Linked DNA regions of Homo sapiens: regions 2, 3 and 4 are each linked to region 1. The links are contacts of gene promoters, found by promoter capture Hi-C in blood cells and fetal thymus (Javierre and others, 2016). All regions are on one chromosome and are shown on one strand. Each heading gives the region's core, a stretch centred on a gene start or on the middle of the fragment in contact. The rest is flanking DNA. Distances are from core to core; before and after follow the strand shown. Region 1 holds the start of BCAS4 (breast carcinoma amplified sequence 4). Region 2 overlaps ATP9A (ATPase phospholipid transporting 9A (putative)). Region 3 has its middle 130 kb from the start of MIR3194. Region 4 has its middle 140 kb from the start of MIR3194.

Region 1 (5,798 bases), core at 1,006-3,505:
TGTGCAACCAACACAACTATCTAACATCCAGAACATGTTCATTACACCAAAACGAAGCCCCATACCTTCCCATTAGTAGTCCCCACACATTTTTCCATGCTATTTTGAGTAAAGAAAAGCAAGTTGCAGGACAGTATTACAGCAGCAAGTGAGGTTTCATTTAAAACTAATATAGATGGGCCAGGCATGGTGGTACATGCCTATAATCCCAGCACTTTGGGAGGCTGAGGCCAAAGGATCTCTTGGGCCCAGGAATTCAAGACCCGCCTGGGCAACATAGTGAGATCTCGTCTCCACAAAATAACTTTGTTTTAAAAGTTAACCTGACATGGTGGTGCGCACCTGTGGTCCTGGCTATGCGGGAGGCTGAGGTGGGAGGATCACTTGAGCCCAGGAGGTTGAGGCTACATTGAGCTATGATTGTGTCACTGCACTCCAGCCTGGGTGACAAAGTGAAACCCTGTCAAAAAAAAAAAAATTAAAAACGTCTGTTCAAAAATTATTTTAAAAATATGTGGAGATGGCTGGGCGCTGTGGCTTACGCCTGTAATCCCAACACTTTGGGAGGCCGAGGAGGGTGGATCACGAGGTCAAGAGATAGAGATCATCCTGGCCAACATGGTGAAACCCCGTCTCTACTGAAAAATACAAAAATTAGCTGAGCATGGTGGCACACGCCTGTAGTCCCAGCTACTCGGGAGGCTGAGGCAGGAGAATTCCTTGAACCTGGGAGGCGGAGGTTGCAGTGAGCTGAGATCATGCCAATGCACTCCAGCCTGGTGACAGAGCAAGACTCCATCTCAAAAAAAAAAAAAAAAAAAAAAAAAATATATATATATATATATATATATATATATATATATGGAGAAAAAGAAAAAGAAAAAAGAGAAAACTCATATATATGTATATATATATATATGGAAAGATATTTTATGGTTTTTTTTTTTGAGAGGGAGTTTTGCTCTTGTTGCCCAGGCTGGAATGCAATGGCTGATCTCAGCTCACTGCAGCCTCCGCCTCCCAGGTTCAAGCGATCCTCCTGCCTCAGCCTCCCAAGTAGCTGGGATTACACACCCGGCTAATTTTTGTATTTTTAGTAGAGACGGGGTTTCACCATGTTGGTCAGGCTGGTCTCGAGCTCCTGACCTCAGGTGATCCACCCGTCTCGGCCTCCCAGTAGTGCTGGGATTACAAGCGTGAGCCACCAGGCCTGGCGAGATAGATTTTTTTTTAAATGTCTCACTCTGTCGCCCAGGCTGGAGTGCAGTGGCATGATCAAGCCTCACTGCAGCCTCACTCTTCCCCGTCCCCTATCCCCATCCCAAGCAATCCTCCTGCCTCAGCCTCCCAGAATGCTGGGACCACTGGCATGAGCCAATACTCTGCCTAGGCAGATACAGATATCTACATTTGTAAATGCATTTTAAATGTCCGGAATGATTTATACCAAACAGTTAATGCTGGTTTTCTAAGAAAACTAGAATTGGGGTGGGAGAGAAAAGAGAAAGGGGTGCATAGCCTTTATGTTAAATACTCCTGTACTGCTTTTGTGGTTTAAAAAGAGAATGGGTTGAATTTCTGACCGTAAATAACTCCTAGTGAACTCAGACAAATAACTTTTTCACAACAGCGTCGACAGATGCCTCCAGCCGGAAGGTAGAGGGTCTCGTTTTAGATCTGCTTTTCACTTGGTGCTTTTAAAATAGAAAGCGCAGACAGAGGCGTGGTGTTTTCGCTCCGAGCTGCAGCAGCGCAGCGCGGCCCGCACAGCCGCAGCCTGAGGCGCCGCTCGGCCCGGGCACCGCTCGGAGGTAGCCGGGGCAGCAGAGGTCCCGGGGTCCGCCTCTCCCAGGGCCGGCCTGGCAAAGGGCGGCGCCTGAGGACCCGGCGGATGCTGGGGGACCCGGGTGGGGAGGGAAAGCGAGCCTGGGCCTCCGGGGCCCGGTGTCGCCCGGAGGAGCGAGCAGGGACGACCCGCTGCACATCTCTGCGTGGCGCCCCGCAGCCACCCTTCAGGAAGGGGGGAATCCCCGGGCCCCCCACTCCGGGAGCGAGAGGATGCTCCGGGGAAGCCGAGGGTCCGGAGCCCGGACCCCTAACCGCGAGAACCCTCTCCTCCAACTCCACAGCCCCGTCCCCTACCTCGGCCCCAGGCTCGGGGGTCAGGAAGAGCGCGAGCTCGCGCGCCCCGCTGCGCATGGGCTCCGGCTGATCAGCGTCCACGAGCAGCATCAGGAGGGCGACGGGGTCCGGCTGGCGGAGGCTGCCTGGGAGCCCGTGGTTGCGCCCGGGCCTCGGAGCCCCGCCCCCGGTCCGCTGCATGCCCCGCGGACCGCCTGGCGGAGGCGGGGCAGGTGCGCTCCCGGCGGTCGCGGCTCGCAGCTCCAGGAGCGCCGGGCCGAGCGGGCAGCGCCACCCAGTGGCGAGCGGCGCGCGCTGCGCCCGCCCCCGCAGCACCTGGGCATCAGTGCTTTGCAAACTCGCTTGCAGATGGCAGTCACCTGGAGCTCTTTTAGAATTTCCCAAGCCTGGACCACACCGTCTCTGGGTTAAGACCTGGGCATCAGGATCTTTTGATGTTTGTTAGGTGGTTCCAACCAGATTGTTGACCCAAAGCTAAATTTGAGAACTATTGGGGCAAGCCACCCCTCCCCATCGGAATCCCGGTAGAGTACAGGCTCCCGGCCCCGGACCCGGCCGTAAAATAGAATCCCCGGGAAGCTTTTAAAAGCCCGGAAGCCAGGCCTCGCACCAGGCCGATTAAGTTGGAATCCTTCGGAGTGGGGCTTGGGCATCGGTAGTTTCTAAAACTCCCCGGGTGATTCTAACGGGCGTCCGGGTTAGAGAGGCGCTAGCTTAGAGGAAGCCCAAAGCCGCCCGCCCCCCACCCGTTCCCATCCTACTAAAGCATCTAGTTTGCATCGGGCGGAGGGTCCTGGAATTTAGGGAAGGCCGAGTGTGACGGTCCTCGTCTTCCTCTTCGGTGCGGATTTTAAAATAAACTTCACCAGGAAACTATTGAGCGCACTACATTTCACAACCGCACCCACTCCCTCCATGCCCTCGGAGGCCGGCCTAGATAGACCCTTTACAAGCCTTGGGGCTGAAGAGAGCGAGGTGCGCCTCATCTCCCACCCCAACAGTGCTAATGAGGAAAGTACTAAAAGGCAAATAGGTATAAGACAAGTCTGAAGTTTTGATTTTTCGTTTGATGACTTATTTTTATTTTTAATTAATTAATTTTTTTTTTTTGGAGACGGAGTCTCGCTCTGTCGCCCAGGCTGGAGTGCAGTGGTGCGATTTCGGCTCACTGTAACTTCCACATTCCGGGTTCAAGCAATTCTCCCCCTCCCTCAGCCTCCCGAGTAGCTGGGATTACAGGCGCCTGTCACCACGCCCGACTAATTCTAATTTTTGTATTTTTTAGTAGAGACGGGGTTTCGCCATGTTGGCCAGGCTGCTCTCGAACTCCTGACCTCAGGTGAGCCACCTGCCTCGGCCTCCCAAAGTGCTAGGATTACAGGCGTGGGCCAGCGCCCCCTGCCTGCTGACTTTTCTTTAAATGTTAAATCGCCTCACAAAAAAAAAAAAAAAAAAAGGCTGAGCTGCTTGGGCAAACATAAGGAGACTCCATCTCTCTAAAAGAAAAAAAAAAATTAAAATTGCAGGATGTGGTGGGGCACAACTGTAGTCCTAGCTACTGGAGAGGCAGATGCAGGAGGATTGTTTGAGGCCAGGAGTTCAAGGCTACCGCGAGTTATGATCGCACCACTGCACTCCAGCCTGTGTGACACAGTGAAACTCTGTCTTTTGTTGTTGTTGTTGTTTTTTAAAAAGGAGGGGCTGGTATCAAGGGTGCAAATAAATATATAGGACGTCCCACACCTTCCTCTCCATTAAATCTGAATTTATATTGTAGTTGGCCACCCTAGGTAGGGGCCTAAACAACACATGTTTGACCTGCCTTTTGTGTAGTCCATCACTGCACAATTCCCACTTCCAAATCTGTCCACTGCTAATTTCTCCCTATCCAAATATCCAGGCCTTCAGGCCAGTCATTTTCTGGAAAATTCTTGGCAAAGACTTGGGCCTCAAGTGCTTAAGGGTTTTATAGGAACTCACTGAGCCCACACTCGGCCATTCGTCATTGTCATGATTTCCCTGATGCTCTGAGCCCTCCTCGCCATCCCCTGGGAGCCGGTCTCAGACCCTTGCCCTTGCCTGCTGGCTAGGCATCTCCCACAAAGAGCCCAGGACTGGCCTCAGATCACCAAATTGACCTGAGCACAGCAAACTTCTCCTGGTGGATAAATCTCAGAAACATAAAGCTAAGGAAGAAAAGTCGTGTTGCAGAAGGCTCTGTAGGGCACTGTGCCATTAGCACAGTTTTTAAAACACGCAGAACCACACTGTATATTGTTTATGGACACCGACAGATGGAGCAAAAGTACAAAGCTGTGCATGGGAACGACGTACCCCATGTTCCAAAAGTGGTTACTTTAGGGCGGGGGAGAAGAAACTGGAGAGGGGTATGGGAGGGAGGGATTTCTTTTTCTTTTCTTTCTTTCTTTCTTTTTTTTGTTTTTTGACAGAGTCTTGCTTTGTTGCCCAGGCTGGAGTGCAGTGGCACAATCTCGGCTCACTGCAAGCTCTGCCTCCCGGGTTCAAGCGATTCTCCTACCTCAGCCTCCCCAGTAGCTGGGATTACAGGAACAAGCACCACCAAGCCTGGCTAATTTTTGTATTTTTAGTAGAGACAGGGTTTCAACATGTTGGCCAGGCCAGTCTCCAATTCCTGGTTTCAAGTGACCCACCAGTCTCGGCCTCCCAAAGTGCTGGGATTACAGGAGTGAGGCACTGCACCCAGCCCAAGAGGGATTTAATATATATATATTTTTTGAGACAGAGTCTCGCTCTGTCGCCCAGGCTGGAGTGCAGTGGCACGATCTCAGCTCACTGCAACCTCTACCTTCCAGGTTCAAGTGATCCTCCTGCCTCAGCCTCCTAAGTAGCTGGGATTACAAGCACATGCCACTACGCCTAATATTTTTTTTTTTTTTGAGACGGAGTCTCTGTAGCCCGGGCTGGTGTGCAGTGGCGCAATCTCGGCTCACTGCAACCTCCTTCTCCAGGGTTCAAGTGATTCTCCTGCCTCAGCCTCCCAAGTAGCTGGAATTACAGGTGCCCACCACCACGCCTGGCTAATTTTTGCATTTTTAGTAGAGACGGGGTTTCACCATGTTGGCCAGGCCGGTCTCGAACTCCCGACCTCAGGTGATCTGCCCGCCTCAGCCTCCCAAAGTGCTGGGATTACAGGCATGAGCCACCGCACCCAGCTACGCCTGACTAATTTTTGTGTTTTTAGGAGAGACGGGGTTTTGCCATGTTGGCCAGGCTGGTCTTGAACTCCTGACGTCAGGTGTTCGGCTGAGAGGGATTTCAATATTCGGAATGTTTTATTTCTTCGGCTGATGTTTGTAGCAATACCAAAACTGTATGAATGTCTAAAATGACTCATTTAAAAAAAAAAAAAAAAAGCCAGGCTGGCATGGTGGCTCACGCCTGTAATCCCAGCACTTTGGGAGTGGGAGGCCGAGGCGGTCGGATCACATGAGGCCAGGAGTTTGAGGCCAGCCTGGCCAACAGGGCGAAACTCCTGTATCTACAAAATATACAAAAGTTAGACAGGAGTGGTGGCACACGCCTGTGGTCCCAGCTACTCGGGAGGCTGAGGTGAGAGGACCACTTGAGCCTAGAGGTCAAGGCTGCAGTAAGCCGAGATCATTCCACTGCACTGT
Region 2 (5,798 bases), core at 1,292-3,791, 800 kb before region 1:
AAAGAGGTGTCAGAAAAATAGAAAGCTCTTGGTGTCGGTTTGGGAGGAAAAGACAGTGACATTTGGTAAAAAGTTATCCACACAATAATCTCCATTCGGAAATGCTCAGTATCGTCTCCAGCCAGCCCTGCTTATCCAGGTTACACTGGATTCCTGGGATCGTAACCAGTAAATGAGAGGAGAGGGAGAGAGAGTGTCCTAAGTCCAATCTGTTATCCTTGATCTGATTCAGCATCCATAGTGTGTGAGTTAACTTCACCTGCCACCTCGTAAAAGAATTTCAGAGGTGTGATCCCGCTTTATTGGGACCTGGTAACAATCACAAAGCCAGTGGCTGTTTGAGAAGGACCTCAGACATTTTCAGCAGAGTTGTTTTAGCAGGAAACGTGCCACTGAATGGCCCCTAAATGTGTCGACAGTGTGATAAGAGACTCAACTAATTCTTTAGGCAACATGGCAGATGTGACTCAGATCCTCCAAGACCAAAGCGGAAAGGTCAGGGGGCTGGGACTCTTCTCTTCCATAGAAGCCTGTTTCCTGTTAGGAGGCATAATGGAAGATGACCCCACAAAGGCAGAGGCATCTTTCGGAACAACACTGGTGGCAGCTTTCAGAACAAGGAACCCCTGGTGGGAGGACGCCCAAGCTACAGCGTTGGGATCTGGGATCTGTTCCACTGCCGGCAGATTTCAAGGGGAACTTGCTGAAAGGCAGCCAGTGGTGAAGATTTCTCCCCTCCCAGGATGGACTACATGCCGGCATGTTTCTTATAAAGCTGTGGCTGCTTGTTTCAGAGGAAGGGAGTTTGCAGTCGCGGGACGTGGTAGAGCAAGGCATTCTTGGGTTTTCAAGTTGCTTCTTGCAGAAGCCACATATGCATGCCATAAGGGTTAAGTTGGTGGATCTTTAAGAGCCAAGTGTGGTTGAGATCTTGGATTTGCGTTTACTTCTTGATGAATACATATCCTTCAAACCCTCTGCCTGGCGCTACTTCTGTGTGCTTCAGAGATGTACATCACAGCCTGGTTTCTGATGCCTACTAACTCCTGCTCTTGGAGAGCTGGAGACACGAGGATCAGATAGTCCCTTGCCTTTGGAGCACTCTTGATAAGCTTTTGTATTTTGTGTTGTCCTTTTAAAATGTTCTAGAATGACTTTACGTTGCAGGTACTGGTTAATTGGCTGTTGACACCACATCTATTTTGTCTTATGATTCTGCAGTTTTGCAGTACTTTTCTCTATCTGATTCAGCCATTTCTGCCAGAGGGAAAAGGTCGGCAGAAAAGATGTATTGAGTGAATAGTTAAGGATAGGATCTTTGTCCAAAAATTTCAGAAAGATTGAGCAAATCTGACGTATTCATTGAGTGAGTTTCTGTGTTTTCAAAGGTGGAGGAGAAATTTGTGCTGGAAGTTTTTAAGCCTCCGTTTTCTTGGAAATCAGTCTGTAACACTGGCAAGTCTTAAGATAGTCCCATTTAGACTTTGCAGATGCTGAACCTGGCTCTGTAACGCTGGGAAGTCTTAAGATAGTCCTGTTTAGACTTTGCAAACCCTGTACCTGGCTTTGCTCGGAGATTCGGGATGCTGGCTCCTGCAGGCAGGGCGTGTGGGAGCCTCGTCAGAAAGTTTTAGAGGTTTCCAGCAGAAGCAGAATGAAGATGGTCTCCCTGGCCTTTTCCTTAATTCTCAATTTTGATTGAGGTGCACAAGTTGACTTTTAAAGCCAACGCTTAAGATACTGATTGACATCTTCAAGGGAGAATGCTCCCAGGAGGGGCTGAAGAAGCCATAGTTGGAAGTGGAAGGTACTCGTCAGTGTTCTCCACAAACCTTTTTACTCTGTTGTCTCAGCCGCACTGGGGCGGAGGCGGTCAAGGGTGAGAAGTACCGACACTCAAGTGCAAACTGCCACGTCGTTGGCCCATCCCATCAGTGGGCAGCTGGCTGACGCCATTCACTGGACGGTCCCTGAACACCTAGGAATGCACACACCGTGCTTCTCAGACACTGGAGACGCAAAGGCAGGAGGATGCAGTCCGGTGAGAGGACACGATCTTTACCTGCACAATCAGACTGTAAGCCCAGCAGAGAACCCCAGGGGCGCCTGGGTACTTCTCGGAGGTCATCTTAGTTGTGGTGGGGAAGACAAAGAAATAAGCAAACAAGAAACTAGAGTTACTATACAAGAAACTCTCCTGAGTTTGTAAACCTTAAGCATAAGGATTCAGTTGACCTTTTTCTTGGTTCATCAATCTGGAAAGAACTTACATAAAGCGCCATTGACACTGTCACCTGGGAGCTCCATGGGCCGTAAGTCTTTGACAGCCAATTTAATTTGAGGTCAGAGGGCCTTGAGGTACACAGTCAGCACTGTTTGAACACTTTTCCTGAAAGCAAAACTCACAGCTCCCTGCGCCCTCTGACAACACTAGCTATTTCTGCCAGAGTAAGAACTTCTATTACTATTTTATTATTGTTCATATGTCTTTTGATGATGGTTGTGTGACAGGGGGAAGCAGGATCTATTTGGTTTCTTCCCCTCCCCCCACCCCTTCCTTTTTGTCTCTCTTTTTTTTTCTCTAAGAAAATCACCAGACTAGTTTTTCCATCTTGAGTAATTTCTTATGTGGGACAGTTTTGATCCTCATTTTGAAAGCATGCGTGTGCACATGTGTGTTGCCTGTGGTGCCAGGTGAGACAGGTGGCACTAACTCCAGCTGCTTGGAAGGCATCCCAAGGGCGCATCTTAAAGTTGGAGCAGACCTCCCTTTTCCAGCCCCTGGGGCCATTAGACCACGTGCTGGAACTAGCATTGTAAAATTCCCATCCCAGTTCCACTCCCCTGAAGTGAAACCCTTTTTTTTTTGTGACAGTAAATCTTAAAAATCATTGTCTCTTTATGAACATTTCCTCAGTTTCTTCTCTGCTGAAAATGTAAGCCATGCTACTTTTTAATGTATTTTGAATTTTGTGCTCATTGGAAATTGATATGCTAATGCCTCCCCCACCCCCCGCCAGACTTTTCTTTTTATACTTTGTCTTGTTTTTACTGGGGTAGGCTGGGCATGCGTGCGTGCCTTTAGGGCAGCATTTTAAACCTTTGCCAAAATTGCAAATGGGACATGTACATTCTTCTGCTCCATCCTACTTAAACACCTATCAGCTATTTTTATCTTTAACCTTTTCTGTATGTTTGAAGTGTGTGGGGGGTGTGTGTGTGTGTGAAAGAGCGAGAGAATGATGTCATCTAAAGTTTTTTGAAGAATTATTTGGTTTTCATTGCATTAAAATTCTATCACTCCCAGCTTTGTTTTCATTTAAAAAAATATACAAAGAGCTTTGTAAATACAACACATTTTATTTCTCCCCCTTCTTTTAATGTACAGCTTTTTTGCCACTTATATATACTTAAAATATTCCCATGAATTATGTCCAGTTCTTCTTGGAAAAAAATTTGGTTTTGAATGAACCTGCAAAGCATCCTGCAGCGTGAGCAGCTCCTCCACCTGGAGCTCCGAAGCATCTTCTCAGGCCAAAGCGGCATTACCCGTGAATCTGTCTTCTCCGCCACAGCATGGTTTGAGGCGCAGTCTGTTAATATAGCTGGGCCATGTCAGTGACTGTTGTGTTTGTGGGGTCAGGTGGGGGGCATGGTATTTGCAAAAAAAACAAATTATGGCTAATTTATTATTTTGTTGCAGTGGGGTTAACTGTAAACTCATGTAAGAGTCTGTGATTTCCTCATTGGTTGATCTCTCTCTCTGTAATCCTCATTGCAAATTTTCACCAGGACAGCGTTTTTTGATTAGAGGGGAGCTCTGGCACAGTATGCTTTAATTTAGCAGGAACTTCCAGATGATTTAAATTCTCGATGCTGTGATGACACACATATGATCTTTCGTGTTTCTGAGCGACTCTACTTTCATTGTTTGCCAGCGTGGCTCGTTGCTGTTGCCCAATAAAGCTTGTGTACGTTCTGCCTTGGGGGATTATTTTAATTTGTACAGAAACATGAATTCTGGTATCAAAATGAGGACTTTTTATTATAACGCTCCTATTTTTTCTTTATTTCATGGTACATGAAATGTAAAGAAAACTCTTTCCAGTTCAGAAAATTATTTTGATTTTGGCAAAAAAAACCCCAAATCAATGCATGTTATTTATTATTTTGTACTATTGTCCATCCCAGACGTGTCAGAATTTCAAAAGGTGATAGATATAAATGGAAAATAAGATGAAAACCATAAGCTTCATATTGTATTTCTATACACGGTCCTCGATGACTGGAATCTTTTTTTTTTTTTTTTATCGAGGGATGGAACATATAGGAACAGTCAGTTAAGTTTTAGGCAGAAAAAATTTTTAAGGCCCGGCGCAGTGGCTCATGTCTGTAATCCCAGCTTTGGGAGACCAAGGCAGGAGGATTGCTTGAGCCCAGAGTTTGAGACCAGCCTGGGTAACGTGGTGAAACTCATGTACAAAAAATACAAGAAAACGAGCTGGGTGTACTGGCTCAAGCCTGTGGTCCCAGCGACTTGGGAAGCTGAGGCGGAACAATCACCTGAGCCTCGGAGGTCGAGGCTGCAGTGAGTCGTGATTGTGCCACTGCACTCCTGCCTGGGCAACAGAGCAAGACTCCGTCTCAAAACAAAACAAAACAAAAAAAGCTTTTGTGTAGGAAGTAGTTGAAATCAATTGGGTGATTTTTGTCCCTTGGGGGACACGTGGCGGTATGAAGACCTTTTCAGTTGTTACAACTCGGGGAAGAGGAGTGCTACAAGCAAGAGATGCTGCCGAACACCCTGTGATTCACAGGGTGGCCCCCACAACAGAGCCCAAAGTGTCAAAAGTGCCAACATTGAGAAACCCTAATTATTTTTTTTCGAGGTGGAGTCTTGCCCTGTTATCTAGGCTGCAATGCAGTGGTGCAATCTTGGCTCACTGCAACCTCCGCCTCCCAGGTTCAGGCGATTCTCCTGCCTCAGCCTTCTGAGTAGCTGGGCCTGCCACCACGCCCGGTTAAGTTTTGTATCTTTAGTAGAGACGGGGTTTCACCATGTTGGCCAGGCTGGTCTCGAACTCCAGGCCTCAGGTGATCTGCCTGCCTCAGCCTCCCAAAGTGCTGGGATTACAGGCATGAGCCCATACGCCCAGCCAGAGAAACCCTAATTTAATTGGCACGTGTCAGCTGTACCATTTGTCTGTCTGTATTTGTAAAAGGGCCCGGAGGTATAAGCTCGTGTGTCTCAGGAAGCAAGTTATGCCTCCGCCTACTATACCAAATACTATACCAAATGGTGTAATTAGTGGCTGTCTGCAGTGTGAGCTGCTGGTTCCCTCTTTTTGGTTCTCAATGGAAAGGGCCATCCTCAGTATATAGATTAGAAAGATAATTGTAACTTAGTTGTGTTATCTCATGACAGCAGCAAAAGGAAGGTATGTGGTTTCAAAGGTAGGGACCGACCATGCTTTCCCTTAAACGTGTGCTATCCCTGCACGACCTTAAGCCTCTGCATTTGCCTGCAGTGAACTTCCGTCCATGTGCGGACACTCCTCCGCCGGAGCCGCTAGGGGGAACTTGAGGACTGAAAGACATTGCTGTTTCCTGTTTTCCACAACCAGCCGGACCCCACGTGCCCAACTGCCCTGAGTTTCAAGACTGTGCTTTCATAGCTTCAGAATTTATTTCATGGCCAGAGGCTCCGTGAAAAACAGACATTTCTTTTCATGTTGTTGACCAGAATATTTTGCTGGACTTAGTTAAAAAAAAAAAAAAGGAAAAAAAAAAGGCAGGGA
Region 3 (5,798 bases), core at 1,629-4,128, 530 kb before region 1:
AGGAGGCAGGGATCCCTGGGGCTCTCTTGGAAGCTCACTCCCACAGCCAACCAGAATATAAGTTTCATGGGAATAGGGCTATGTCTGTTTTGTTCACTGCTATATCCTCAGCTTCTAGAACAATGCTGAGTACCTAATAGATTCTTAATCTAGTTTGTTGAATGAATGAACCAGACAAGGTGAAACTTAACCAGTGAAAGCAGCACATGCAGGTCTCTCTGAAGACAGACAGAGCACAACCTCTTCAACAGTGGTTCTATGAAGAACTCCAAGCATTTGCTACAACATCAGGGGAAATGAAAGAAGAGGGAGCAGCTTCTGTACACAAAGCCACTTCTTCATAGTAGTCCCAGAATGTTCTGGTATGCGGGAGAGATGTGGCAGTTTGTGTTGGAAAGGACAATGGATTTGAAGGTGGGCACAGAGCACGCGGCTGCAGTGCACCCACGTGGACACCCTTCTGCGGGCTCACCTGGTTGGTGTGGGCATGAGAAGATCAGGCACCTAACCCTGGCTTGGCACTTAAATCAATAAAGTTTAGTTTGTTATACTTAAGCAGGCGTGATCACACCCACTCTGCCTAGTACCCAGGAATATAGTAAATTCATTAATTCACATCACTCATTTACTCATAACTCTTGACTTCATGGAGTTCACAAGTTAGTGAAAGACTCAAATGGATTGATACATTCTGAAAATAGTGCCACACAATGTGTTGTGCTGTTGTTATGTGCCTTGATGAATTGCTGTTTCGTTTATTGAGCACCTACTGTGTGCGGCCACTGTGCTAAATCTTATATGTATCAGCTGTATGCAGTAGGTGCTCTTAATCCTCTTTTTACAAGTGAAGCTATGCAATCTCAGAGAGGTTAAGCAACTTGTCCTAGGCCACCCAGCTAGTAATTTGGATCTAGGTTTTGTGACCTCGGAGCCTTTCCTACTATGTGGTAACTTTTTGCTTAGGGACGTTTTAAATATCTACATTTAAACTGACAGTGGGAGTAATATTTCTAATAAAAGCCCTAGTCAATTCACTTACTGCCATTTGCCTTTTAATGTAATAATTGTGGTGGATTTGGATCATGTCAACTCAGCTAAGTTGGAATTCTCAGAATTCCCTTCCCTGCATTGTTTCTGGTTAGCATAGACCAAAAGACATTTTGAGTGAGACCCGGGAGGGGGAAGCGAAGTGGCAGGTAGACTGCTGCCATGCTTGGAAGGTGGGCATGGAGCACGCGGCTGCAGTGCACCCACGTGGACACCCTTCTGTGGGCTCGCCTGGTTGGTGTGGGCAGCAGCTAAGCCTGCAGCTTCCAGTCCCTGTGGATCCTCCTTAGTGTCTCTGAATCCTGGCAGAGGCCTGTTTAGTTCCGGGATGAAGAATGCCACCTTTTCCTGCAGATCACCTGAGTGAGTAATCACAGATGGCTGCTTGGAGGTGGCAAGAGATGGACGGGGGGTTTCCAGTCTGTCATCCCGGGTTCCAGCTTGTCCTGGTGGCTCCAGTTTGTCGTCACTCCCTCCCACTTCCCATCCATCCTTCCTTCTTGGTGGCTGCCCTGCTGACTTGAGGATCCAGCGTCAAATTCAAAGAAGCAGCCCCATGTAGACTGGTGAACCAGCTCCCCAAGTTGCATAAGGTAAATCTCTACGATAAATCCCTCCAGTTGATTCTGCTGTGGTCAAACCCTGATACAACAATTTAAGCCTGAATCTCATTTCGTGTACTTTAATATATAATAACTCAAGCCTGTCTTCATTCCTCCATTGTTTTCAAATATTTAAAGCAAATACCTATGAGTATGTGAGGGATACCTATGTCTGCCACACATCATGGTTAAAACTCTGTTTGAAGATTTTAAAAAGCACCTTGGCAATGCCTGGCAGGTCTGTCTGGAAAGGAGCAGAGAGGCCAGGGTGGGAGGGAATCCCCCTGCCTTCGACCCAGACGCCTTGGTTCTCCCAAATCACTTGATAGATTTTCCCCAGACCTGTCCCTGAGGCCCTGGACTTGGCTGTGGCTTTGAGGGCGGGAACGCCTCCGAGCTGGCCGCTGGGGAACGCGGACTGTCTAGTGGAAAATCCTGATGCCAACTAGAGCTCTGTGTCGTAGGCACACGGCTAGACTGGAGGGACGCGCCCACACGATAGGAAGTGATGTGTCTTGCTGGACAATGCCAGCAGATACTATTTGATATTTATAAACTTTTCCAGACTCTCAGAGCAGAAGATGAGCAGCTTCATTTTTACAACCACAAATAGTACATTCCTAAGCTTGTACGTGTGTGTATACATATATGCATTAGAATGACTGAGTGTAACTCACAAAAGAAGAAAAAACAATGAAGCAAATCCATGACTGAGTTTCCATTGGCCTAAAGGAGAATACAATAATTCATAAATACCTCTCCATTTATACAAAGGAAGAAATGCGGTCAGGCACGGTGGCTCAGGCCCCTAATCTCAGCACTTTGGGAGTGCCGAGGTGGGAGGATCACTTGAGCCTGGGAGTTCATGACCAGCCTGGGCAACACAGCAAGACCCTATCTCTACAAAACTTTTAAAAATCAGCCAGGCATGGTGGTGTGCGCCTGTAGTCTCACCTATTTGGGAGGCTGAGGTGGGAGGATCGCTGGAGCCTGGGAGGTCAAGGTTGCAGTGAGCCATGATCAAGCCTCTGCACACCAGCCTGGGTGACAGAGTGAGATCTTGTCTCAAAATAAAATAATAAAATAAAATAAAATAAAGAAACAGCAATGAACAAATGGAGGTCTGTGAACTTCCATTTATCCAAAGGAAGAAAGAACATTTCACAGAACCAGAAACATTCACAAAATCTTCTCTTTTACAAAGGTGGAAAGACTAGCCTCAACTGTTTACCCCAGGAGGTCAGAAAACTATGACCCACAACTGGCTGTTTTGGTAAATAAAGCTGTATTGGAACACAACCATGGTCACTCTCTTACTTATTGTCTATACTGCTTTCATGCTACAACAGCCAAGTTCATTAGCTGAGACAGGGATGTATGGCCCACAAAGCCTCACATATTTATTATGCAGCCCTTTAGTAAAAGTTTATGGACTTCTGGTTTATTCCATAACCTTTGGGACCACTGAAGCATCCTCCCTATTGCTTTCACATTTTCTTGAATAAATTGAGCCCCTTACACCTTCAGCAGCAGGAAGTCTAATACTTCCTCTTGAGCACCTCACTTTCTCACCACTCCCATTATCCAAGAATCCTGGGATTTACATGGTCCAAAGAGGATCAGTCCTATTTCCAAACAACAGAAACCTACACTAAAGCCATCAGGTCTCATGGCCACCAGGGGTCACTGTTAAGCACAGGCTGTCCTCTGAGCTCAAGATCCACTGCTCCCCAACACAACGCTGGGACTGCTGGGGCCTGACAAGATTCCAGCTCAGCCAGTAGCCCTGTTAGAAGCAGTCCCCTGTGAACCTCATTAAGGCGCTCAAGCTTTGGCCAGGTGCTCCCACCCTCTTGATGATTTCTTGTTCTGGATCCGTCCCCAGCCACGTGGGTTTCCTGTCTTTCTCCAGTAGATGTTAGGTGAGAGCCCCAGAGTCCACTCTGATGGCTTTTCCCAACTTCAGGTCATGGGGAGCAATGATGGATATCTCAGTTCCTTCCTTCCCTAGAGAACCTGGCTCCACATGCAAACGGATGCAGCTCCCCCAACCCCATCCCCAGCAGCTAGGTCTTTCTGGTGAGAGACGTGCTTTGGTCAGGTTACAGGAGTTCTTTTACAACCACCCTCAAGAAATGTCCCCTGTTCGCATTAACTAAGAAAGACCATTTCATTCCTAAACAAAGAAGATTTATTGCAAGGAGAGGCGTGGACAGGTGCAGATACCTAAAGAAGATAACCTGGATCCAATGTCGCTGGGTCTTTGTTCACACCTCATAGCTTCTTCCCTGGTGGTTCAGGCAGCTTCTGAGATGGTCTCTGTGATCTTCACTTTCTTATATTCATGCCCTCAGGTAATCCCTTCTCCTTGGGTAATTTCCATCAAACCAACAGCATACCTCAATATTGGGGGAATGCCACATCTGTGATTAGATTACAGAATAGTTGGGCTTCCATCTTGCTAGCAGACCCTCTCCCTCGCCAGCTGTGAGGAAGCAGCCTGCCAGGTTGGAAGGCTCACATGGTCAATAGTCAGCTCATGCTGAAATCTGCCCTGTGGCGAGCGGGGAGCCGGTGTGGCAATGAACTGACGGAGTTCTCCATCCAACAGCCAGTGAGGAGCTGAGGCCCTGAATCGAAGAGCCCACACATGACAGAATCCTCCCAACAACCACATGTGTGAACTTGGAAATGGAGCCGACACCAGTTGAGCCTTCAGATGAGATCCTAGCCCTGGTTAAGACCTTGATCGCAGCCTTGGAAGAGACACTGAAGGAGAGGACCCAGCTAAGCTGTGCCTGGATTCCTGCCCCACAGATACTGTGAGATAGTTTTAACTGTTTGTTATTCTAAGCTATGAGGTTTGTGGATGATTTGTTATGCCACAGTAACTAATATACCTGTCCACAGACCATTTCAGCACTAAACACACGGGAAACTGTCAGGCTTTACAAATGTATTGACCTTTAAAATGCCTACATTTTGCAGCAGAGAGTAGTAGATAAATAGAAGTACTTCTCAGAAAGATAAAATGTCTAACCTAAACAGGTGAACATTTGGGATTACCTGACAAAGGTCAAGGAGAGTAACAAATAGCTGACCCTTCCTCCCAGGTCCAGAGACTGGCCGGCTTTTGATGTGAGGGGTGGAGCATGCATCCAGCTCTCTGAGGCTATGGAGGGTGCCTGTCCACCTCTCCCCACCTACTCCACCTACTCCCACTTCCTGGACCACTCTCTGCAAATCAGTGAGCCCCATCTTCTATTCTGCCTGGCCTGGATTCACAACCTACCGAGCTGCTCTGAAAGGGAAATCTGGGGAATGACATTTATCAATGTAATTGACCAAGAGGAGCTGGCATTTCCACGACTACCTCTGCTGCTCAGAAAGGGCATCTAGGAGTCAGCTGGAAGCTCCTTCTCATATCATAGCTCACTTAATCCTCACAGACTCTTGTTTTGATGGAAGCACTAATATCCCCAATTTCCAGATGGGGAAATGGAGGCAATTAGAGAGTAAGAACCCTGACCCAGGTCATAAGCTAGTGAAGGGACAATCTGACCCAGGCAATGGCCCCAGAGTCTATGCTTTTAACAGGGGCCCCATATCACTATTCACCCACCTAGGATTCCCCATCTCCCCTCTATGTTGAATGGCCCCTCGGCTCTCCTAGAGGACCATTGCTCCCCAGTTCTCAGCTCAAATAGTGATGGTGGGAAGGATTGTCCCATTGTTTTTCTGTGTGTGCACACTCACACACACACACTCACACACCCTCTTATAGTCACGTGTGCACTTGCACACACTCACCTGCACAAGCGCTCTGAAGCTCCAGGTCAGAGCCTGTAACACGGGCCTGACGCATCACCACGCTCCACAGCTCTGCCTGCGCCAAGGGTTCCCTGCCCGCACCCAAGCCAAGCTGGGCCAAATCAACCCTAGGAGGTTTGAGAAAAGGGATGCTCTTTTTCCAGGGCCTCACTGAGCTGTAGGATGCAAGCCTGAAACTACTGGTGATGAAAAGAAAAGCAGAAAGAGAAAGCGCGATCCCTGAACACGTTCTTTAAGCCCCAAGATTCAGCCAGGCACAAAGGTTCATCAAGGTCTGTTTAGGTTCATGAGTCAGGATGGCCCCTGAATCGCTGGAGT
Region 4 (5,798 bases), core at 1,433-3,932, 510 kb before region 1:
GACTCTCTCCTGCTTTACTGAGATTTATTTTTCCTTTTCGCCTAATAAATTCCATTTCCCCTCACCCTTCAAAGTGTCTGCAGGCCTAATCTTTCCTGGTCATGTGACAAGAACCCTTTTTTTTTTTTCCCCCTACAACACATGTATTAGGGCATTCTTGCATTGCTCTACAGAAATACCTGAGACTAGGTAATTTATAAGAAGAGAGAGAGGGAGAGGAGGTGCCACACACTTTTAAATGACCAGATCACGCATGTAAAGCAAAAATAAAATTCTAAGCCGCACAACCTGCTGATAAACCCTCCCCTTGGCCAAGAGCATTCTAAAATTAACTGGAAAGACGAGTTCGGGTTATCATGGGAAGTGAAAGTCAGACATGCCTCCTTATACCCTCCTCCCCCTCCCTTTGGAATTCAAGCACAGTTGACCAACATTAACATTAAAACAGAGATCTTAAGACAGATAGAACAGACTTGAAGTCTGATAAACATTTACAATCTATTCTCTGTGAAGCCTGCTTTGGGAGGCTTCATCTGCATGATAAAACCTGGGTCTCTACAACCTATTATCTTAACCATTCCGTCTGTGATTCCAGGTCTTTAAATAATAACTCTTTAAGCCAATTGCCAGTCAGAAAGTCTTCGACTCCGCCTATGACCTGGAACCCCGCCTCCTCCAGTTATCCAATTGTCCCGCCTTGCCAGACGAAACCAACATGTATCTTACATGCATTGATTGACATGTCTCCCAAAAATGTATAAAATCATTTTGTATCCTGACTACCTCGGGCACATATTCTCAGGATTTCCTGGGGCTGTGTCATAGGGCCACTGGTCCTTCATACTTGGCTCAGGATAAACTCTTCGGATATTTCGCAGAGTTTGACACTCTTCATTGACACTCACTATTGCAAAGACAGCACCAAGCTATTAGGAATCCACCTCCATGACCCAAATACTTCCCACCAGGCCCCACCTCCAGCATTAGGGATTACAATTTGACATGAGATTGGAGCAGGGACAAATATCCAAATTATATCAATAGATTTGTATTGAAAAGTCAGGCCACATGCAGTGGCTCATGCCTGTAACCCCAAAACTTTGGGAGACTGAGGCAAGATGATTGCTTGAGGCCAGAAGTTCAACACCAGCCTGGGCAACATAGTGAAAGCCTGTATCTACAGACAGTTTTTTTTTTTTAATAGCCAGGCATGGTGATGTGGGCCTGTAGTTCCAGCTACTCAGGAGGCTGAGGAGGGAGGATCACCTGAGCCCAGGAGTTGGAGGCTGCTGTGAGCTATGAGCATACCACTGCACTCCAGCCTGGGTGACAGAGCAAGAATCTGTCTCAAAAAAAGAAAAAAGAAAAATTACACATGTGCAGAGAACTATACGTATCATAAATGATTGGCTCAATGAATTTTCCCAAATTGGAACCAGCCTCCAGATTAAGAAATCATCTGTTACCCTAGGGAGCCCCTCATGTGCCCATGGTTGATTTTTTTAGGAAACAAAGCATGGCAGATAAAATTGGTCCCTGTGAATAACCTGCCCACTCCATTCTTCTCTCTCTCATCCCAGAGGTTTCATAATCCTAAATACAATGCTTGTTATTCCCATATTTGCCTTTACATTTATAGAACATATGCACATATATCCCTGTGCAACAGACACTTTTGCTTTCATGCTTAAAACTTTATATAAGTAAGATACTATGCTTTTCTCATTCTAAAATGATGTTCTGAGGTTTGTCCATTGTCGTGGGTTGCGACTCTCTGGGGTTGGTGTCATATAGGTGGTGAAAAGAATGTACCAAGATAGCTGTAGGTAAAGAAAGGCAGATTTACTCGAGAAAGCGCTGCAAGGAAGCAATGGGCAGGTCAGCAAGAGGGGAGCTGACTGCAAAGGGACAAAGCTTGCTGGAGATTTTATACGCTGGTTCTTGGGCTGGAGAGGGCTACGTGCTGTACTGATAACACCAAGGTTGCAGGGAGCTAACTTGCATTTTTCTATCAGCCAAGAGTCTGGTAATAGCTGGGCACAGGAAGACTGTGAGTTATATTGTGCAAGAGGTCCATGGTCCTGCATTGTGTCCTGGAAAGGCAGACTTACAGCTTATCTGCTTTCTCTTTTTGCTTTCCCTTTGTCCCACCAGCCTGACTCCTCCTCCCTAATGAGAACTCCACATCCATGTACATCAATGAAGCTGTAGTTGTTTTTGCTGCAAATATGTCACAAGGCATTTCTCCACTCTCCCATTGATGGACACTTTAATGGTTCCTAATATTTCTCTGTTACACACAGATGCTGTTATGAGTCTCCTTGAGTATGGCTCCAGCATGCTGGAATGGGAGATTGTCTGGAGTAAAGATACGTAGGGGTGGAACTGGTGTATCATATGATGTGGGTATGTACAGTTTTGCTCTCCACAGGGGTTGTATCAGACTCATAGGAATTTTAAACTGGGGACAGTATCAATGACTACTGTACAAAAGCCACAAACCATAAGCCCATGGAGCTAAAAAAGCTTGAATAATATTTGAATCACCAATGCTAACATTTACAAATAGGAAGAATTCATACAAAATCCATATTTGTAGCTTTTTGTGAAACGCTGGGCAATTCTGGGCCCAGGCAGCTGCAGAGGTGCTTCTTGAGGCAGAAAGAGAGGGGGAGAAACACCCCAGCCTCTCTCCTGCCCTCCGAATTCTGCCTCCCATGGCCAAACCCAGCTGGCTCAGAGGCCTGCAGGGGTCAGCCCTCCTGGGGTTGACCTCATCCCTTTTCTGTGCCACTTAAACATGGCACAGTGTTCTCACCGACTTGATCTCAAGCTTCTTGAGGGCAGGCAGAAGTTCCTGGGCATCAATCTGTCTCCAGAGCCAGGCTGATAGCCTGGTCCTAGCAGGAGCTAGATCGGCTTTATGTTACTGGAAGAAATGCAGACAGTGACCCTTAACCAGTCTCTCTAACTAGTCTCTCACAGATTCCAGGCAGTTCATTAAAATGTTGAATTATAAATGGACAGAGAGTCAATATTTTAAGTCTATGGACCATATGGTCTCTGTCACAACTATTCAGCTCTGGAGTTGTATAGCGTCAGGGGCCATATACAATGAGTGAGTGAATGGGTGTGGCTGTGTTGCAATAAAACTTTATTTGCAAAAACAGGCAGTGGGCCATATTTGGCGGTGGGTTGCAATTTGTGGCCCCCTGCTATGGACCATGATGTAATTGGTACAACCTGGGTTTACATTTGCACAGCTGTTAGCAGTAACCCTGGGAGTCAGGCCACCAAAAGAGTGCTGAACTGCTCTTTGCTAGAAGTAAAGAGGAATTTTGAAGAGGGAACACTGCAAAGAGAGGATGGGAGAGGAGAGGGGATGAGGAGGGGAGGAAAGAAAGATGAGCTGGACAATAGGACAAGGGGCTGGAGCCAGATGGTGAACATAGCCGGGAGGCTTTTGAAGATGAGGGAGATGCAGCTTTCAATTGTAAGATGTCTTTGGTTACTGATCCAAACCTTCAGTAAAGTCTGCTCTGTCCCCACATGCCTTTGTGAGTGGTTTGTGTGTGTGTATGAGAGTTAACAGAACGTTCTGTCTTCCCAAGCACCAGGCAGCTCCCCAGCACTCAGCCCCGCTCAGTGCAGGCAGAATGAACCTCACTGATTGCTACAGCTACCTAGAAAGGTAGCGAAGAATCTGAAGGTCAGAGAGGTTAACCCAAAGTCACACAGCCAAAGAGAGAAACAGAAACCAAATCCAAAGCCCTGATTATTTCCTTGATTGCCCAAACAGCTGGAAACTTGAAATCAGTTTTTCTGTTTCCTGGAATGAGCTTTGGTGTATCCCTTTGAATGTGGGTTGGATTCCTGGGGATTTAGCCTCAAACCAAACTCTGAGGCCAGAGTAAGGTGAATTAAACCTGGGGAGGTGCAAGGGAGGTTATCTTATGCTCCTTCTTCCCTCCCCTGGACCTGGCCCCTGCCTTGGGTACTTCCCCACTACCCTGAGGCACCTGCTTCTGGTGGGGGTTGGGGCGGGGTGGCGAGGGAAGGGGTGACCTGGGCTCTGTCTGCTTCTCTGGGAATTAGAAAGGGGGTGGGGTGTTTTGTCATCTCTGAAGCCAACACCTGGGTTGACATCATCCAGCTACCTGGCACCTTTTATGGCAGAAGGATAATTTGGCCCGGGCCATTTATTCACAGAATCCTCCAGTTTAGACTTTTGACATTATCTATAAACAAACTTAGATGTATCATCATTGAATCTTATGCAAAAAGCATTACTTTGTTAAACATAAACACTTATATTTTACCACAATTCTGACATCCCTTTTTGCCTTAAACTTTTTTAAAAATATGGGATGGCTTTGGCTTTCCTCAGCCTCTGAGAGACTCTCATTAGGTGTCAAACCCAAGAGCTAAACAAAAGCTGATTTATGCAAAATGTAAGCTCGTCACAAGTCAATTAGGGCTCAGACAGGCTTTTGTGACAAGCACTTTCTAATCAATTCCATCCGGCTCTCTCTGAGAGTCTATGAGAGAATAAACACAATAATGACATTAAAATGGGCAGTGGGGCTCTTCACCTTCTTGGGGTTCCCATACCTTTGCCCTCTGACAGCTGCTCTAGGCCTTTACCCAAGGAAATGTACAGACATGAATGCAGCATTTTGTTTCCAATTTCAGGGATGTCTAAACTACATCCACGGACTCCTTAAGTCCCCACATGAAGAAATTTTGGGGCTGGGCATGGTGGCTCACACCTGTAATCCCAGCACTTTGGGAGGCCAAGGCAGGCAGATCACGAGGTCAAGAGATCGAGACCAGCCTGGCCAACATGGTGAAACCCCGTCTCTACTAAAAATGCAAAAATTAGCTGGGCGTGGTGGCGAGTGCTGGTAGTCCCAGCTACTCAGGAGACCGAGGCAGGAGAATTGCTTGGGCCCGGGAGGCGGAGGTTGCAGTGAGCCGAGATCGTGTCACTGCAGTGCAGCCTGGGCAACAGAGCAAGACTCTGTCTCAAAAAAAAAAAAAAAAAAAAAGAAAGAAAGAAAGAAAAAAGAAATTTTGGTGGAGCCTTTTTAAATACACAAATTAAAAACAGTAAAGAAATATAATTCCTGATCGATGCAATTGTCCCCCAGGCGTAGTCTTTAAGCACACATTCTACAGCTCCCAAATTCAGGAGCTGGAAGCACAGCCTTGCTATGAGGTGGACTTAGCTTCAATCTCTGCCCGGATGATATTGGGCAAATGGCCCAATCATTAAAACGGACACATGAATGGGACCAACCTGGCCGAGTTAAGAGGATTGAATTAATATTTGCGAAGTGCACAGAAGGGCGCCTGGTATACCAGAGGTGCCCAATCAAGGTTAGCTCTCACCAGCATCGCTGGTTCTCTTCCCCTTCGAGGCCTGCGCAGGGCTGGGGAGGAGGGATCACCCCTGCCTGCTTGAGACCGGCTGCCACATCGCTGGGAGGACGCCGGGCTGCCCTAGAGTGGCCACAAGAGGGAGCAGTTGCCTTTCCTAACGCCGAGGCCCACCTGCGCCCAGCCTTCCACTCAGGCAGGGGCAGACGACGTGGGCTCCCTAGACCTTGGAGCCTAACCCAGAACCTTCTCTCCCCACCACAGCTGGAGGTGGGGTGGGGTAGGGTGAGACGGGCCCTGCTCGCAGCTGTTCTCTGTGCACTTGGGACAGGGCTCTAATTTATGCCTGAGCACCGTGGCCTGAGGTTTCTTCTCTGCCAGCCTCAAGGGCTGGTCCTCACTTTGTCTTGCCCTTAGCG

The links. The method cuts DNA at HindIII sites, captures the fragments that hold promoters and counts their contacts. A CHiCAGO score of 5 or more calls a contact.
Region 2: a contact is called between a fragment that was not itself captured here and the fragment with the promoter of BCAS4 in region 1, in 1 of 17 cell types (naive B cells). The highest score is 5.4, in naive B cells.
Region 3: a fragment that was not itself captured here is called in contact with the fragment with the promoter of BCAS4 in region 1 in 2 of 17 cell types (endothelial precursors and total CD4 T cells); the score reaches 8.3 in endothelial precursors.
Region 4: a contact is called between a fragment that was not itself captured here and the fragment with the promoter of BCAS4 in region 1, in 13 of 17 cell types (total CD8 T cells, total CD4 T cells, naive CD8 T cells and 10 more). The highest score is 14.5, in total CD8 T cells.

The regions. Positions count from the first base shown.
Region 1 is chr20:50,791,518-50,797,315 of GRCh38, reverse strand. It overlaps BCAS4 (breast carcinoma amplified sequence 4), which reads right to left and starts at 2,255. Exons shown (of 5, transcript NM_198799.4): 1 at 2,143-2,255. The coding sequence starts at 2,232. RefSeq lists a silencer at 1,703-2,522. The HindIII fragment of the contact is 4,840 bases long and covers 1-2,723 here.
Region 2 is chr20:51,594,959-51,600,756 of GRCh38, reverse strand. ATP9A (ATPase phospholipid transporting 9A (putative)) reads left to right here. Exons shown (of 28, transcript NM_006045.3): 28 at 1-4,243. Among named protein-coding and RNA genes, the nearest start is that of NFATC2, 55 kb to the right of the region's middle. The HindIII fragment of the contact is 2,854 bases long and covers 1,115-3,968 here.
Region 3 is chr20:51,323,963-51,329,760 of GRCh38, reverse strand. No RefSeq gene overlaps it. Among named protein-coding and RNA genes, the nearest start is that of MIR3194, 130 kb to the left of the region's middle. RefSeq lists an enhancer at 805-1,683. The HindIII fragment of the contact is 1,204 bases long and covers 2,277-3,480 here.
Region 4 is chr20:51,306,679-51,312,476 of GRCh38, reverse strand. No RefSeq gene overlaps it. Among named protein-coding and RNA genes, the nearest start is that of MIR3194, 140 kb to the left of the region's middle. RefSeq lists enhancers at 1-563, 564-1,553, 5,277-5,798. The HindIII fragment of the contact is 307 bases long and covers 2,529-2,835 here.